2 separate regions of the Homo sapiens genome follow, and region 1 is linked to region 2. The links are contacts of gene promoters, found by promoter capture Hi-C in human tissues and cell types (Jung and others, 2019). All regions are on one chromosome and are shown on one strand. Each heading gives the region's core, a stretch centred on a gene start or on the middle of the fragment in contact. The rest is flanking DNA. Distances are from core to core; before and after follow the strand shown. Region 1 overlaps SLC24A3 (solute carrier family 24 member 3). Region 2 holds the start of DTD1 (D-aminoacyl-tRNA deacylase 1).

The links. The method cuts DNA at HindIII sites, captures the fragments that hold promoters and counts their contacts. A contact is called where the count stands out against the background at its distance.
Region 1: a fragment that was not itself captured here is called in contact with the fragment with the promoter of DTD1 in region 2 in 1 of the 25 tissues and cell types used here (dorsolateral prefrontal cortex).

The regions. Positions count from the first base shown.
Region 1 is chr20:19,227,763-19,230,790 of GRCh38, forward strand. The region is part of intron 1 of SLC24A3 (solute carrier family 24 member 3); the gene reads left to right. All of the region lies in intron 1 of LOC124904879 (a long non-coding RNA gene), which reads left to right. Among named protein-coding and RNA genes, the nearest start is that of SLC24A3, 17 kb to the left of the region's middle. The HindIII fragment of the contact is 7,240 bases long and covers 1-3,028 here.
Region 2 is chr20:18,586,013-18,589,446 of GRCh38, forward strand. DTD1 (D-aminoacyl-tRNA deacylase 1) reads left to right here and starts at 2,042. Exons shown (of 6, transcript NM_080820.6): 1 at 2,042-2,103. The coding sequence starts at 2,061. It overlaps LOC124904878 (a long non-coding RNA gene), which reads right to left and starts at 1,453. Exons shown (of 3, transcript XR_007067547.1): 1 at 1,413-1,453. RefSeq lists a silencer at 1,869-2,408 and enhancers at 2,179-2,678, 2,519-2,578. The HindIII fragment of the contact is 3,504 bases long and covers 1-3,237 here.

The sequences.
Region 1 (3,028 bases), core at 227-2,726, 640 kb after region 2:
ACTTATTAGCATGTTAATTATCTGGTAGGTCAAGACACCTTTCCTGTTTTTTGAAAAAACTATTTATTTATTGTTATCACTCATTTATCTTTCCAGATGAATTTATAATCCTTTACATTTTCTCCAAATCCTTCTAGGTTTTGATAAATCTATAAATAATTTATGGAAAAATGGCATTTTATAATGTTGATTCTTTTTGTTCATAGTGTGTTTCTTCATTTGATAAAGGCTTTTAAAAAATTTGTCAAGATTCATGATTATTTCTCTATTTCTTCCTTACATTTACTGGTGAAGGTTACTCTGGTATTTATTATTTGTTGTTGCTCTTGTTTCATCCCTTAATAGTCTTTTAAAATATTGCTTCTTTATATTTTATTCTTAAAAATGTGAAATTATACAATACTGAAAATAAACTTATTCTATGAATCAATATCTTTAGGTTCATTCTGTAGCTGAGGAGTTTTTTTACTGTTGGAAGACTATGTGCTGTCCATTGGGGTATGGATCCCCTTGGCTATTAGTGACACTGGTTACTTTTCATTATGCTGTGGAAGTTTCCTTTCATTTGTGGTTTTCTATATTAGAAAAAAATCAGGGCCGGGCGCGGTGGCTCACGCCTGTAATCCCAGCACTTTCGGAGGCTGAGGTGGGCGGATCACGAGGTCAGGAGATCAAGACCATCCTGGCTAACACTGTGAAACCTTGTCTCTACTAAAAATACAAAAAATTAGCCGGGCGTGGGCGTGGTGGTGGGCGCCTGTAGTCTCAGCTACTCGGGAGACTGAGGCAGGAAAATGGCGTGAACCCAGGAGGCGGAGCTTGCAGTGAGCTGAGATCACGCCACTGCACTCCAGCCTGGGTGACAGAGCTAGACTCCGTCTCAAAAAAAAAAAAATTAGCCATGGATGTTGAATGTGATCAAATGCCTTATTAACACTTATTAAAGTGTTTAATATAACAATATATATAGAAAAAAATATCCTTACTAAAGCACTTCTGAAAGTGAATCTTACAAAGGCATGACATATATTTTTAATATGATGCTGGATTTTATTTATTTGCATTTTCTATGAAATTTTTGCCTATATATTTATGAAAGAAATAGACATATAGCTCCTTTGCCAGGTTTTGGTGTCAGGATCACACTAACTTTACAAATGAATTGATAATTTCTATGTTCCTCTATGTTCTGGAATATTTTATGAAGCATGGAAATTATTTGTATATTGAAAATTTGACAAAAGCACTTATAGTGCTGCCTGCCTTACAGTCTTCTATGAAGATAATTTTGAACAAACTTTAATTTCTTTCATTGATACTTTTCTGTGTGGGTAATTTATGTTTTCCTAGAGAAGTGTTAATTTCATTAATATTTTAGAAATGAACAAAATTATGAAGTACTTTTTTTGTTTTAATTTGTTCTGTAATTGAGATCATATAAACTTTTCTCAGTACTAACGTATATGTTTATTTTTTTCATTGATAAAATCTGACTGTATTTGGTGTATTTTATCAATTTGTGAAAATTTGTATCTTGTATTTCTTCATTAATTTTTCTCTTTTCCCTTTTCCCTGAGTCAGTAAAGCTTTAATATTTATTCAAAATCTCCTCTTAATTCCTGTGTTTATTTTCAAATATCTTGAATGAAATGCTTTATTTCCTTTTTATTATTTCTTGCTTTATAATGCATTTGATGTTTAGTGTAGCTTTAGACTCAAACTATAAGTTTTGAAATGTCATGCAGTCATTATTGGTACTTTTCAAATAGTCTTGTAATTATAGTTTTTATTTTTTCTGCAATTAATTATTTGAGAGACTGAATTTTAACTTCTAAGTTGTTGGAGTGTGTGTGTGTATATATATATATGTATATATACCAAGTTCTAATTTTATTTCGTTTTGCCTGGAGAATATGACCTTTAATTGTGGCTTCTTGTTGGTTTTGGTTGTTTCCCTTGGAACATGAACTGTTTGTAATTTGGATAGTTATTTGGCTGTGTCTTCATCTTTTTGTCTTTTCCTCTTCATTCTGTAAGAGCCTATGTTTTTTTCCCCTTGGTAATTTGATTTTCAGCACTATTGGGTCTGCTGTCTGCTGCCTCTTATTCCCATTTATGTTTTGTGTTTGCATTTCTGGTTTTTTAACCATTTTATGTCTTGTCATCTCCATCTTAGCTGACTCCCCTTGTAATCTTAGCCTTTTCCATTTAGTGATTTTTCTTTCATATATCCTATGTTTATTTGATATTGAGATTAAAAAAAATGGATTCCAAAATTTACATCTTCTTCCCATAATAGATTTTTTTTTTTTTTAGAAGAATAGTGTTTTACTTCAGATGTTGCAGAGAATTTTCAAAATTGTCTTGAGTTATCAACCTTGAAAGAGAAGGTCCAGGCCGGGGGTGTGCCTGTGAACAGACCCTCCTGTCCCTTCAGCGCCCTCACCACTCTCACCTGGTCACAATTGTCAGGTTACTGTGAGCATCGCTTATGCTGAAGGGGTGGTTGTTGTGCATGGTCCCTGGCCAACCTTCCAGTGTTGATGTTGACTTTTCTAGGGTGACTCAGCTTGCCTGAGAGGGGATCTCCTGCTCCTTCTACCTTGTAGTTAGAATACTGAGGTGGAACCTTATTCATTATAATTTTGATCAGTGATAGTTCTTCCTAGTTCTTATATCTAGAGACAGTGTGTGAAAATCTGCCACCCTGGTTTGATCCCTCCTGTGGCTCTTTCCATCGCACCTCTTTTCTATTAATCTCCAGAAGGCTCCATACCACCCTCCTTTTGCTTCTTTGCCTAGTTGAGTTGCATTTCCGGGAACTGGGGTCTCTGAATGGATGGGTATAGAAAGACATATTGATGGGGGGGAATGGATGGGTATAGAAAGACATATTGATGGGGGGGGTGCCCTTTACAACAGTTCCTTTCAGCAACAAATGCCTCATGTTTCTGAGATGGGATTCACACCTGGGGACCCATGTGCCCTTCCACAGTCCGCATGTCACAATCCCTTCTTGTGTGTTAGG
Region 2 (3,434 bases), core at 792-3,291:
GGATTTATTATTGCTATTTTTAAATGCATTGATAAATCCATGTTAACTATTTCTCTTAGTTAAAAACAGTAAACATTTTTAGATATAATCCACCTAAACAAAAGCTATACTTTGTGCCCAATAATTTTTAAGAATGTAAAGGGATCCTGTGATCAAAATATTGAGACCTGCTGATTTTTCAAAAACTCAAATTTTACCAGTTGTTCCAATAATAAGCTTTTCCTTTTCTTGATTTTTCTGGCCAGGATACCACCCAGGTTAATTTAGTTTTCCTGTCTTTTTTTTTTTTTTTTTTTTTTTTGAGACAGAGTCTTGCTTTGTCACCCAGGCTGGAGTGCAGTGGCACGATATCGGCTCACCGTAACCTCCGCCTCCCGGGTTCAAGCAATTTTCTTGCCTCAGCCTCCCGAGTAGCTGGGATTACAGGCATGCGCTGCCATGCCTGGCTAATTTTTGTATTTTTAGTAGAGACGGGGTTTCACCATGTTGGCCAGGCAGGCCTCGAACTCCTGACCTCCAATGATCCGCCCACCTTGACCTCCCAAAGTGCTGGGATTACAGGTAGTTTTCCTGTCTTTTAAAAAGTCCACGGCTGGGCGCAGTGGCTCATGCCTGTAATCCCAGCACTTTGGGAGGCCAAAGCGGGCAGATCACCTGAGGTCGGGAGTTCGAGACCAGCCTGACCAACATGGAGAAATCTCATCTTTAATAAAAATACAAAATTAGCCGGGCGTGGCGGCGCATGCTTGTAATCCCAGCTACTCAGGAGGTTGAGGCAGAAGAATTGCTTGAACCCAGGAGGCAGAAGTTGTGGATAGCCAAGATCACACCATTGCACTTCAGCCTGGGCCACAAGAGCAAAACTGCATCTCAAAAAAAAAAAAAAAAAAAATCCTCCTTAATTCTCGGAATCCTACCTGGTTATTTTGTAGAATGTTCCTCAATTTATTTTTGTCCTATGTTTCATCATGATTGGATTCAGGTTATACATTATTTGGCAGAAATACCACAAGATTGATGTTGTGTCCTTCCCAGTGCAATATCAGGAGGCACATGATGTCTTGTTACTGGTTATGTTAACTTTGACAACGTTATTAAGGCAATTTAGTATTCAGTATTTAACAAACAAGCACACTAGTTTGTAGTCTTTTCTGGGCAAGTGAGGGTTTCTTCTCAATTTCAGTGCCTTTTCTACGCCCACCAATGCTATTAGTCACCTTTAAGGTGAAGACTGCTGAGATGGAATTATTTTTAGCAATGATAATAATTTGTTGGGGTAATAGTTGTACAGCCCTTTGCTGCCATCTAAGCACTTTTACGTGGTTTGGTTCATTTAAATCTAACAACCCAGTGAGGGGGCCAATTAGTAGCATTTATATTACATGAGAAATTAGAATTCTAGAATCACATACCTATTTATTATCATGACATGGCTAAGTCGAATTAATAGTGAGATAGGTAAATGGCTATTTTAGGCAGCAGATCCTTTTGTATGTGGTATCTGAAAAGCCACTGAGGCAGGAAGACAAGGAAGAAGAATTTGGGAGGATCTGCGTGCAGAGGAGTGGAAGAGGAAAGAGGAATACAATTAGAAATAGGATTCAGGCTGAATTTAAAGGCTTAGTGATGACGGGTTCTTAGGTTCGGGTATGTGGGAGAAAAAAACCAGCATAGAGACTACCTTCGGGGCAGAGTGGGTTCTGGGCACTGGGTAGGGGCTGGGCCCGGGATGGGGGGATCAAAGGGCTCTGGCGGGACCCAGATGTGGATGGGGCAGGGCCGAGCGTGGGGACTGGGCTTTTCAATGACGGGCGGGGTTACGGTTGGGCAGCAGGTGGGCGTGGCAGGCATAGGCGGAGTCAATCTATGAGTGGGTGGGCCTATCGCCAGGCCGAGAGTGGGCGTGGCCGACGTGGGGTGGGTAGCAGCCGACCGAGTCGGACCGGCCAGTTGGGCGCGCTTCCGGGTGTCACCTCCAGAGGGCGCCGGCTGCGGAGCCGCCCTCAGAGTCGCGAGGCCGGACGCAGCGCGGCGCCGCCCCACTCGCCCCAGCCGCCGCCATGAAGGCCGTGGTGCAGCGCGTCACCCGGGCCAGCGTCACAGGTCAGTCGGGCGGGGCCGGGCCCGGGAGGAGCCGCCCCTGACCCCCGCGACCGGCTGTCTTGCGTGGGGGGTCTTCCTGCGCCATCCTTGGGGCCGCTGCGGCCCCTCCGCGAGCCTGGTCCCCTTCGCGAGCTCGGTCCGCGCAGCCGCGAGTCCCCAGGGCCGGCTTCGGGGCAGCGCGGCGGCCGGAGAGCCCCCTGCACGTGCCCGACCGGCCCCGGCGCGCCCCTGGCTTCCGGCTCTCGGCAGAGGGTGCAGGACCAGCGCGCCTCATTCTCAGCACCTTTGTCCTGCGTGCGGGATGGCGGAGCCTCGGAGCATCTCCGTGGTCCGCTCTTCAGGGAGTGTTGATGAACCACGCTTAGAGCATTTCCGGAGCAGGCACTCCTCCCTTTTCACTGCTGTATTTTAAATGTTCAATTTTTGCCCATTTTTACGTATTCCAATTTTTATGGGGCTTGACTCAGGATGAAATGCACAGATGCGGAGAGTTGCTCCTTGGGCTGAGCTTTGACAGTTGCGTGCACGTACGTGACTGGAGCCTAGGCTGGATGAGGGGCGCCCCCTGCCCAGGACGCCCCTCGCCCTCGCCCGCTGAACTCTGCGCGGAGGGGTCGGGATCTAAAGAATTCAAGATGAAAACATTTCTCTTTTTCTTGTGGACCAAGCTACCCGACCCCTGGTCATCACTCAGCACTTTCGTCTCGGTTGGGCATCAGAGGTCCAGATGATTAGTGTAGATAAAGTAGTCGTTTTAAGAAAACCACGGTACGAAAGATATTTTTTAAAAAACATTTAAATGACAAGCTTTATATTGTCTTTAGTCTTTTCTGTCTTTATTGGCACAACTATATTGTTTCAGTTCAAATAATTTCAGATATCCTGTCCTTGGAGCCAGTCTGCACCAAATATGCGTTCTTGTGTCCACAAAAGTATGAATTAAAAACAAAACAGGCCGGGGGCTGTGGCTCACACCTGTAATCCCAGCTCTTTGGGAGGCCAAGGCGGGCAGATCACCTGAGGCCAGGAGTTCGAGACCAGCCTGGCCAACATAGAGAAACCCTATCTCTACTACAAATACAAAAATTAGCCGGGAGCGGTGGTTGGTGCCTATAATCCCAGCTACTCGGGAGGCTGAGGTAGGAGAATCGCTTGAACCCGGGAGGCAGAGGTTGCAGTGAGCCGAGATTGTGCCAGTAACCTCCAGCCTGGGCGACAGAGCGAGACTCTGTCTCAAAAAACAACAAACAAACAAAACCCCAAAACAAAAAACAAAACAAAACAAAAACAACAAAAAACCCTAAAGAAACAACCAAACCCACCAAAACCGT